Regions from separate parts of the Homo sapiens genome. Here region 2 is linked to region 1. The links are contacts of gene promoters, found by promoter capture Hi-C in blood cells and fetal thymus (Javierre and others, 2016). All regions are on one chromosome and are shown on one strand. Each heading gives the region's core, a stretch centred on a gene start or on the middle of the fragment in contact. The rest is flanking DNA. Distances are from core to core; before and after follow the strand shown. Region 1 holds the start of LAP3 (leucine aminopeptidase 3). Region 2 has its middle 14 kb from the start of DCAF16.

The links. The method cuts DNA at HindIII sites, captures the fragments that hold promoters and counts their contacts. A CHiCAGO score of 5 or more calls a contact.
Region 2: a contact is called between a fragment that was not itself captured here and the fragment with the promoter of LAP3 in region 1, in 13 of 17 cell types (total B cells, fetal thymus, neutrophils and 10 more). The highest score is 11.2, in total B cells.

Annotation. Positions count from the first base shown.
Region 1 is chr4:17,572,922-17,578,447 of GRCh38, reverse strand. LAP3 (leucine aminopeptidase 3) reads right to left here and starts at 1,250. Exons shown (of 13, transcript NM_015907.3): 1 at 881-1,250. The coding sequence starts at 982. RefSeq lists enhancers at 703-902, 1,243-1,602 and a silencer at 973-1,182. The HindIII fragment of the contact is 2,285 bases long and covers 268-2,552 here.
Region 2 is chr4:17,793,735-17,799,799 of GRCh38, reverse strand. It overlaps a transcript of DCAF16 not described here. Among named protein-coding and RNA genes, the nearest start is that of DCAF16, 14 kb to the left of the region's middle. The HindIII fragment of the contact is 264 bases long and covers 2,318-2,581 here.

The DNA.
Region 1 (5,526 bases), core at 1-2,500:
CACCAAAGAAAACGGCCTTCCTTGGCATTGGTAACTCTGCCAGGTTCTAACTTCCCTAAGATTGTTCACTCCCCGGGAATCAATGGAGCCAACTGAGCAACTGTTATCTGGGTAGGCTGTGGCACAGTACTGGAGATAGCACTGGTCAGGCGACTGGTCCCTCCACCACTGAGATACCTGCAGGAGACTGGAGCTCAAGCTCCCCCTAGAACGTTCTTCTGCAGGGACAGTCATCTCTTTCTGGTGCTTAGGCATGACTCCCAAGCTTGTGCTGGTTCCGAGAGCCATTCCCTTTGCAGATCCTTCACATCTGAAGAGCGACCTTCGTAATTTTTTGGAGTTCACTTTTCTTCTGGAAGATGCTCTTAATTCTGGGAAACGTGGGTCTCTCCCCAAAGCCCTTTTCTCTAGAGAGGCATGCTTTTCCTCTAGAAACCCTTCCAAGCTACTTAACTCCCTGACCTTTCACTTCCGCGGGGGAAGGAGCCCTGTGACTCTGGGACCTCAGAAACCCTTTCACCTTGGCAAACTCGGGCTTCCTCCAAGCTCGGATGGGAGCCCCACCGCCGCGTCTTTCCCCGGGTTACTGCCAGGACCGCGGGTGACGACTGGAGCAAGTGCGCGGCCGAGTGGAGCCGGGTAAAGGGCGGCTACAACCATCACCCCCTAGCCCCGAGCAGGGGAATCGCGCCCTCAATACGACCGCTGGGGTCCTCAGCGGCCTAGGCCGATCCCCGCAAGGAGAGAATTTTTCTTTTAAACTGATTTTTGCAACTTGGCTTGGGCGCCCAGGACACCGCGGCTTCGACCAGCCCCGCAGCCCCAGTAGCCCACGGGCAGGGCCCCAGCGGCGGACCATGAGCGAGCCGCCGCCTCTCACCTTCGTCATGTCTGCGGTGGAGAGACTCCGGCTCCCGAAACGTCTCACGGCCAGACGTCGGACGACTACTCGCCCCGCAGCCGGAAGAGGCAGCAAGAACATCTTGTCGGCTCGGCCCCTCGCACCGCCCTCCAGCGAGCACGTGGAGAGCGGTGGGCGGGCGCGCCTTGGGGCGGGGCTTTCGGGGCGCAGACGGCGTGCGCGCGGACTGGCTCGGGCGCCGGGCGAGCGGACGTGCGTCTAGGGGGCGGGACGGATGGGCAGCACCGGCCGACTGGACCGCTGGGATCAAACCGCGGTTGTGGAGGGGACTCAAGGGTGCGCCCGCATTCGTGTGCGCCCGCATTCGTGTGCGCCCGCATTCGTGTGCGCCCGCGCATGCGGGCGGGGGCGAAAAGGCGGGGCTTCCGGACGCGGTTGACAGTCCCGGGAGCAACGCGAAGTAGAGGGGCGGGACCGATATGGTGACGTCACACGATGGGTGGGGCGGAGGCGGGGCGAGTTCTGCAAGCGGGCGTGGGCGGAGCGCTGGGCAACTCCCGGGAAATAGAAACTGAGTGCCAGAGCTTGTTGTCAAGGTTGCTGAATAGACGACTGCATAGTGAAGACACTCCCACTGAGTTTTCGTTTGTTTGTTTGGTTTTTTTGAGTCGGAGTCTCGCTCTGTCACCCAGGTTGGAGTGCAATGGAGCGATCTCGGCTCACTGCAACCTCCCGCTGCTTAGTTGAAACGATTCTCCTGCCTCGTCCTCCCGAGTAGCTGGGATTAGGGGCGCCCGCCACCACGCCCAGCTAATCTTTGTGTTTTTTTGTTGTTTTTTTGGATTTTTTTTTTGAGGCGGAGTCTCGCTCTTGTAGCCCTGGCTGGAGTGCAGTGGCGCAATCTCGGCTCACTGCAACCTCCGCCTTTCGGGTTCAACAGATTCTCCTGCCTCAGCCTCCCGAGTAGTTGGGACTACAGGCGCCCACCACCACACCTGGCTAATCTTTGTATTTTTAGTAGAGACAGTGTTTGGCCATGTTAGCCAGGCTGGCTTTGAACTCCTGACCTCTGGTGATACACCCGCCTCAGCCTGCCAAAGTGCTGGGATTACTTACAGGCGTGAGCCACCGTGCCCGGCAACTCTTTGTATTTTTAGTAGAGACGAGGTTTCACCATGTTGTCCAGGCTGGTCTCGAAGTCCTGACCTCGTGATCCACTTGCCTCGGCCTCGCTAAGTGCTGGGATTACAGGCGTGAGCCACCGCACCTGGCCTGAGTTATTTTTATTCGTGTCCTTTCATCTGTTCCACAGGTGCAACGGTGTAAATACTGTTTTTGAAAATGATGTAACACTATTAGGTTCGTTGACTCGTGCACATAGCAAGTCAATACGCCCAGACACCAGGGTTGCAGCAGAGAAAGAGGTGTAATCGTGGAGTCGCCAAAGGAGGAGATGGGAGGAAACCTCAAATCCATCTCCCTGAGGAATTTGGGGTCAAGGTTTTTAAGGGTTTTGGAGAGGGCTATAGTGTGGAGATCGTTGATTGAAGAGTGCAGGGTGAAGTCATGGGACAGGGCGTTGAAGAACCTGTATTCTTAAGCTGACCCCATTCCTCTCTGGGGATCTTCAAACTGGTAGCTGGAATTCAAGGTCTGAAAAATATCTTAAGCGATCCTTAAACAGAAAGCTTATGATTCTAATGTCAGAGATCCTGTCTATAGGAACAATGGGAATGCAAATGGTCAGTATGTAGTGCTAGGTGACTTTTAGCAACAAGGAAGTGGGCCAAAGTACAGCCTGATTAATGCTTAATTATAACTATATTTCTGCCTAGAACTTGGCATGAAATTTTTGTCAACACAGTGGGGATGGTTTCAATAGAAAGTTTTCAAGTAGTGCTCAATATTTTTATATATTTTTATTTTCTGTAAAGCGTTTTGTTTTTTTTAATTCCTTATTTTTTACTTTTTTTTTTTTAACGGAGTCTTGCTCTGTCACCCAGGCTGGAGTGCACTGGTGTGATCTCAGCTTATTGCAACCTCCACCCCTGGGTTCCAGCGATTCTCCTGCCTCAGCCTCCCAAGTAGTTGGGATTACAGGCGCCCGCCAACACGCCTGGCTAATTTTTGTATTTTCAGTAGAGATGGAGTTTCACCATGTTGGCCAGGTGGGTCTTGAAGTACTGACCTCAAGTGATCCACCCGCCCTGGCCTCCCAAATTGCTGGGATTACGGGCGTGAACCACCGCGCCCGGCTGGTTTTAAATTTCTCATTGTAAAAAAGTACACAGCTGAATGCAACTCGGAGAATATGGGTAAGCACGAGGAGGGATACAAAAATTGTTCTTAATAATGACACCAGCCAGCTGGGTGCAGTGACTCATGCTTATAATCCCAGGACTTTGGGAGGCCGAGGTGGGAGGATCGACTCAGCCCAGGAGTTCAAGACCACCCTGGGCAAGGTAGTGAGATACCCATCTCTACAAAAAGTTAAAAAATTAGCCAGATGTGTGCCTGTAGTCCCGCTAATGGGGAGACTGAGGTAGGAGGTTTGCTTGAGCCTGGGAGGTTGAGTCTGCAGTGAGCCATAATTGTACTACTACACTCCAGCTTAGGTCACAGAGCAAGACCCCATCTCTTTTTAAAAAAATTACACCACTGTTGATCTGATTGCAATTTTAGCTGAGGTGCAGGGGTGTGGGGAGGCTTACACCAGCTGCAGTGAGCAAAGTCTTCACCTTGAGCTCAGTTGCAGGAAAGAAAGAATGTCTATTTCACTCTCCAAGAGCTAGACACTCCAGAGGAGAGATTTGATCTTCCTCTCTTGAAGGCTGAGTGGGTTGGACTGGTAGGTCCACTCTGGCTTCCACCTTCTCTAGATAGTTAAAATGGAGTTGCATCATAAACTCAATAAACTCACCAAATTTTATCTATATTTGCTCCAAAGACAGCGAAATCTTTACATTCACTTTACAGCTCTTCCCTCCTTCCAACGTGATAGATCAGGCCGCAGTTTCTGAAACTAAAAAATGGAATGCGAAAACCTGTCCCCTCCTTGGTATGTGAGTAGAGGGTCTCTGAGCTTCAGAGGCATCCAAGCCTCAGAGCTGTAGGTTACCCTTGTCTGTATCTGCTCAGCTGAATTTATTACCTGTTTTATTGACTTGCGGGTCCAGCCTGAGACTCTGGTGTATCATTTACTTTTCTCTTTGCTTCAAGGACCACACCATTTACATTTTCACATGCCTAATGGTACAAAAGAAAAGTACATTTCACAGTCTACAAATAATCAGGATTGTGGATCACTTTGGGATGAAAGATTTAGTCATCCTTCAAACCCTAAGTTTACAAGGTGCTTAAGATGTTTTTCTGTTAGAAATCATGGGATAAAAAAGAATCTAAAACAGTGTCCCTGTCTTCAAGGATTTTATTATTGTAGAGGGGGCAAAACTTAACCTCTACCATCTTAGGGTCTCCAGCTGGGCCTGAGAATTAAGTTGACATAAGACAGATTAACGAGAAAAACATATTAATTGGCTGGGCACAGTGGCTCACACCTGTAATCCCAGCTCTTTGGGAGGCCAAGGCAGGTGGATCGCTTGAGCCCAGGAGTTCGAGACCAGCCTGGGCAACATGGCAAAACCCTGTCTGTACAAAAAATACAAAAAAAACAGCCATATGTGGTGGTGCATGCTTGTAGTGCCAGCTGCTCGGGAGACTGAGGTAGGAGGATCACTTGAACCTGGGAGATTGAGGCTTCAGTGAGGCATGATTGTGCCAGTGCACTCCAGCCTGGGTAACAGAATGAGACCCTGTCTCAAAAAATAATAATAATCATATATATATATATATATACACACACACACACACACACACACACACATATAAATTTTATTTAATAGTTTTGCACGTACTTGGAAGCCCTTACAGGAAAATCGAGACCCCCCAAAATGGTTAGGCCTAAGTGCTCATATACTAGGTTGAACAAAAATAGTAATTTTGAAAAAGTATATTTATATGGGAAAACTAAAGGAAATAAAGGTTAGTCTAACAAGAGTTGTTTGTACAGATTTCTCTCGGCCTTGACTCTCCCTCTTTGGTGATAATGTTCCTTTCTTTCTGGTGCAGGGAGGGCAGCATTCACATGAGAGCTGATCTCCTGCTTTCAGGAAGTAAAGAGAGGCCAGAGTACCCTTCTTGCATCTGCTGTATTTTAAGTGCCTTTAGCTCAAAAAAATCTTTATGTCAAAGTTTTATATTCTGCTGTCCTCTATTATCTAGTAGAGGCAAGAGATATGGTGATTGTAAAAATATTGTTATAAAAAAAGAAAAGGCAGTGTTTCACAGAGTTATATGTGCATATGCTCCTGTTCCTTCTGCTCCCTTCTTTGCTTGACCAATGCCACTTCTTCCAAGAAATACTTGCTGACCTTCCCTGTCTGGGTTATGTGCCCTCCCTCTGCTCCCAAAGCGACCTGTCTCAAAGTGCCAATCACCTGTATTCTTGCAACTGTTCAATGGGTTCTCCTTGCCCGCTGCCTAAACAGAGCCAATTTATCAAGACAAGGAATTTGCAACAGAAAAAGAGTTTAATTCACACAGAGCTGGCTGTATGGAAAACCACAGTTTTATTATTACTCAAGTCAATCTCCATGAAAATTTGG
Region 2 (6,065 bases), core at 1,200-3,699, 220 kb before region 1:
TCCCATCTGCTTCCTAAGAAAAGAAAAAAATCCATACATGCATGGCAGGAGGGCATATGATAGGTCCCCTCTAGGGGATAGAAGCCCTTCCTGCTGGGTCTTCTATCACACCTGTCCATATTTTAAAAAAAAAGTCTCTGATGAAAATGTTTTGATAGTGTAAATAGCTAAAGCATTTAAAGACTTTAGAAGTCACTTGGGTTATTTTCTGATGCGTAAGTTGGCTTGCATCTGGCTTTCTACTTTTGGCTCCAGTGTTAGAGAATATGTCTTTTGGAGCAGCCTGTTAGTTTTAAATATCTCTTGTTAGAAATTTAGCCATTCATCCAATATTGCTATGGAGAAGTGCCTACTCTAGTGCAGACACTGGGAATGCAAAACTAAATAAGATTACTACACATAGGAAATTAGTTTTAAAATATATGAACCTATATGTTACCCCAAGCCATTTCTGCTGTCTAGGGTCATATTAAATAAACCTAAACCCTAATCCATATGTTGGCCCTTCACATATTGAAAATAGCTTATAGTGGAGAATCATATAAAAGAATTGAATGGAGCAGCCATCCAAGTATAATGAAGATTCATCTGGAGGGCAGACTTCAATTAAACCCCCACAACGGATACTCAGCCAAGGAAATGGAGAAAATATATAGATATTTTGTATCCAGATTTAAATTATATCTGCTAATCACAAGGTAGTGGCACAAAGATCAGGGCCAAAAGTGTTTTGCTCAGGTAGCTAGGACATATAGAACAGCCTGAGAAGTATGGATAACTTCTCAGACTTCATGAGTTAACTGTGCAAGCTGGTAACGTATCTGTCCGCCAGTGATACCCATTGGACTGAGGGAGTTACATTAGCTGGACCAACCACCAGTACTTCTATGTCAACTTGCTGTTGCTAAAAGAAAAATGTCTATGATGTGTCTCAAATAATTTTAAATACAGTTGAGTTAATGACTACATATTTGAGTCTGCTAATTCCATGCAGTTTGCCAAGCTCTTCCTTTCAATTAGCAGCCGCAGTGAGACTTAAGTTTGCAACTGAGACCAAGAAATGGAAAGGATGAGGATATACCACAGTGACCTGACACTTGCTGGCTTCCCATCTTCTGTGAGAGCTATGACCAGCTATTCTCAATGAGCTCTGGAAAATGAATGCCTGGTTTTCTTTTATTATTATTATTATTTTTTTATTTTTTTGACACAGGGTTTCGCTCTTGCCTAGGCTGGAGTGCAGGGGCATAATCTTGGCTCACCGCAGCCTCGACCTCCTGGGCTCAAGCCATCCTCCCACCTCAGCCTCATCAGTAGCTGTGGACTACAGGTGCACACCACCACACAGGCCAATTTTTGTATTTCTTTGTAGAGGCAGTTTCACTCAGGCTGGTCAGGAACTCCTGAGCTCAAGTGATCCTCCCACATCAGCCTCCCAAAGTGCTGGTGTTACACTGGTACCTGGTATAAAAAAAAAAAAAAAAAAAAAGGAAAATAACAGTGTAACAGGAAGACAGCGATAGGGTTATTTCTTCTAAACTGTGGAGTCAGTTAAAAACGTTAGCAACAGTTTCAAGTTGAATCATAAAACGAAGTTGACTGGAATTTGGGCAGTTTATTTAGGAAGATTCTGACACGTGATATGAAAATTCCTGGGATCATTAGGGGAGTTAGGCTCTATATAACAACAATCATTCAGGAGGGACTCAGGATACTGGTTAGCTTAACAAGATTAAAACTGACTTCCTAGTATACACATAAACCAAGCTAGTTTCTCAAATTAGCAACAGAAACCAGATGAAACTCCTCAAATGAGTGTTGCAAAATAAGGAGCTGGTACTATAGTTTTATTTGGGGAGAAATTGTTAAGTTTGGGTTAACTGCTCAGCCTATGCCTGATACTACCCTTCCATCTATGGTATCAGCTGTGGCACCTGACACTCCAATGTATCAGCTGATGGTTTTGGTTTACAATAAATTAATTAAGCAATGGACCAGTAGGGGCAACTTCTTTGAGAGGTACCCAAACAAGTGGAACAGCCCAAGGGCATGGCCATCTTCCATCAAAAAAGACCCTAGGTGGGCTTTCTGGTTGCACCCTGAGTAACCAGAATGGCCTGATAGACTGGCAGAGCTCTGGTGAAAGAAGGGTGCAGCCACTACCTGAAGAACTCTAATTTCTGAATCAATTGAAAGCTGGCATTAATGTTGGCCACAGACAATGCATTCCATGTAGACTTACTGCAAAGTGTGTTATATGATATTGATCCCTGTCTACCTACTTGGTACTTAAGTAGACTCCCATGGCTTGAAAGCTTTGGACCAGACCCCAGTTTCCTTCTTTGAATGCAGTTTTTCTGTGTTGTCACATCCTACTTGGGACACGTTTCTTTAAATGGGTTGGGTTGCCTGATGTAGCAAAAAGAAATACAGGACACCCGAATACATTTGAATTTCAGAAAAATAATGAAATATGGCACATATACCAGAAAAAAAGTTATGTTATTTATCTGAAATTCAAATTTAGTTTCCTGCATTTTATCTGCAACCCTATAAATATGTTAGTGGCATGGATTAAGCTTGGGTTTTAGTCTATGTAGTTGTTCCCAGGAACTGTCTTGACTCTTTCCAGTATGTGTTGTTTTCTTATGTCTAAGTAATTGACTAGTAGCCAGGAGCAGTGCTGGTGCACACCCGTAGTCCTAGCTACTCAGGAGGCTAAATTGGGAGGATTGCTTGAGCTGAGGAGTTTGAGGTTGCAGTGGGTTATGGTCATGCCACTGCACTCCAACATGGGCACCAGAGCAACCGCCCATCTCTAAAATAATAATATTTAATAATAAGAGACTGGGGGCAAGGAAGGCTCACACATAGTTGACCCAAGTTGTATTTCTTATATATTTATTTATTTATTTCTTAGAACTGTTGTTGAGTGTCAGAAGAGGAGGCCCAATTGCAGATATGAGAGTTTTTATAGGAGACACGTGGTATTTAGCTAAAATAACCACATAACCATTACAATATTTGCAAACACAAATTTTTTAAATGCTGTCTCAACAGCAGGTAGTTTGGGTTTGTGGTTTGTTGTCGTTGTGAGATGGAGACTCACCCTGTCGCCAGGCTGGAACGCAGTGGTGCGATCTCGGCTCACTGCAATCTCCACCTCCTGTGTTCAAGCAATTTCCCTGCCTTGGCCTCCTGAGTAGCTGGGACTACAGGTGCGCACCACCATGCCCAGCTAATTTTTTGTATTTTAGTAGAGATGGTTTCACCATGTTGGCCAGGATGGTCTCAATCTCCTGACCTCATGATCCACCCACCTGAGCCTCCCAAAGTGCTGGAATTACAGGCGTGAGCCACCGCACCTGGCCATCTGTGTGTGTTTTAAGCAGTTACTTTCTCACTCTTCTTTACCATGAAGGGAAAGTATATCACTCTTTAAAAACAAAAAATACTCGATAGGTAGCACAGTTATGATACCCATTCTTCATCACAGAAAAGGTTCACAAATTTGGAACACCTATCTTTGCCTTCCAGAACCCCCAAAAGACTTGAGGATTTAAAGGCACAAGGTACCCTGGAAGGTGGGAGTAATAAAGAAAGTTGAAACAAGGGGATTATTTGAACATTTATTTTTGCTCTTCTTTTGTAGGCAGGCAGCTATCTCTCTAGCAGATGACTGAAGCCTTATTGTCTGGAGAAATTAAACCAAACAGACTTAGAACTGAGGACAGGGGGAGGATGGTAATGGTAGTGATGTGCTATATGGAAGACAAAATGATTAACAGAATGTGAGTATTCTGAACATTATGAGCCTCCAGTCCACTTTTCTCCACCTGGCTACAGAATCTGGCAATGGGGCTTATACCCAGCCCTGCTCACCTGACCGAAAAAGACAAGCAGTAAAAAAACAGCTTGACCCTCGATTATTTGTTACAGTGAAACTGAGAGTCCACAAGGCCTGCTCCTTCATATACAGCTTTCAGTCACTTGGAATCACTGTACACAGATAGCCAAGGATCACTAGATATTTGAGGAAACCTTCAACATGAAAGATGAACATAAAGAAGCTGTGATATTCTCAGAAAGGAATATACTGCTTCCATCAAATAGGATCAGGATGCTATTTTAAAAAATGACCAATCCAAAAACAAAAGCTATTGGAAAAACAGGAAACCAAAAGTAAACATTCAGTAGATGTATTAGAAAATAACTTGAAGAAATTTTAAAAAGTAGAACAAAGAGATGAAAAGCAGGCAAGAACAAAAAAGAAACTTAAACCTGAATAAGATGCAACATCTAATAAATGAGTTCCAAAATGAGAGAACAGAGAAAGAAGGTGAAGAGAGAAAAAAATTAAAATAACATTTCCCGGAAATAATAAGACTTTAGTCTTCTAAATTAAAAGGGTCCACTAAGTGCCCTGTGAAATGAATTAAAAAATACCAAAGCACATTGTTAGGATATTTCAGAATGCTAGAGTTATGGAAGGACCTAAAAGCTTCCCAATAAATGTAGCGGAGAAAGTTACATAAAAAGGATACGTTTTCAAAATGGCATTTAGATTTCTTGGTAGCAACACTGGATGCGGAAAGACTATGAAAGCAAGGTCTTTAAATTTAAAAAGAAATGATTTCCAACGCAGAATTTTGTACTCAAATAATCCAATCAAGAGTGGGGCTAAAATAAAGATACCTTAAGACTTGCATGGTCTCAGAATTTTATCTCACCATCTACCTTTTCTTAGGAAGCCACTTGGAGGATGTGCTTTACCAAAATGAGGGAGTAATCTGAGAAGGCATGGGATCCTGAAACTAAAAGATGTCACAAAGGAAAACGAGGAAAGTCCCAGGATGACTACTGTGTCAAGTAAGTAGGACAGAGGTTCCAGGAAGTAGGTATCTAGGAAAACTGGGAACAAAGTATTTGAGTACAATGGAAAGTGTATAAATAAGCAGGAAATTTGAAATTTTATTTCTTAGAAAGTATGTTATTTAGTAATCAGTTTTTTAAAAATTTGACATTAAAAGTATAGGCAAATTGGAGTCTTGTCAGCTATAATTAGATTGGTCCTTACGGCATAATACTCCACAATTGCAGTAGATGCTGACTTCAATAAGATGTGCGCCACAGAAGATATTTTTAGAAAATAAAAAGTTTTTCAATTTGTTTTCGTATTTGATTTGCTTAGGGAAATCTCAATTTTGTATTTATTTACAGAAATAATGCATAGTCTATAGCAGTAATTTCAGCAAGCTTTTTGTTTAAATTTTAGCCTCTGTAGAATCAAAAGCATAAAGAATTACAGGTTGAGCATTCCTAATCCAAAAATTTGAAATCTGAAATGCTCCAAAATCCAAAACTTTTTGAGTGCCAACATGACAGCACAAATGGAGAATTTCACACCTGACCTCATGTGACAGGTCAGTCAAAACAAAGGCACACAACAGTTTATTAAAACTACTGTATAAAATTACCTTCAAGCTATGTATATATGAAACATGAATGAATTTCATGTTTAGACTTCCCATCCCAAAGATATCTCATTATGTATATGTAAATATTCCAAAATCTGAAAAAGTTAAATCTGAAGCACTTCTGTTCCCACACATTTCAGATAAGGGATACTCAACCTGTATCTACTTTTTAAAAATAATATTCTGAAATTCGATACTGTTTTTCATCTTCCATGCTATTTTTGCTATCAAGATATGGTTACATACAGTGGCTGGTCCATAATATATTCCTATATAATATTTTAGATGTTTCCTTATGAGTCATGATTCAGGGTTTTTTTCTTTGCTTTGTTTATGTTAATATTACATAGTCTGAGAGTGAATTTTTATTTACTTGCAAGTGATATGTATGCTGATAGGTTTTTCTCTCTGTCATCAAATCTATTGAGTAAACCATGCCAGGCCAATTTGTCCATCTCCTTTTTTCTAAGTAAGAAATCACAAATATACAGTAAATAGAGTGCACTAATCATAAGTGTACTTGATTTTTTTACATGTGTATACATTCGTATCAAGATCATATAAAAATGTATACACTCAGATCAAAGT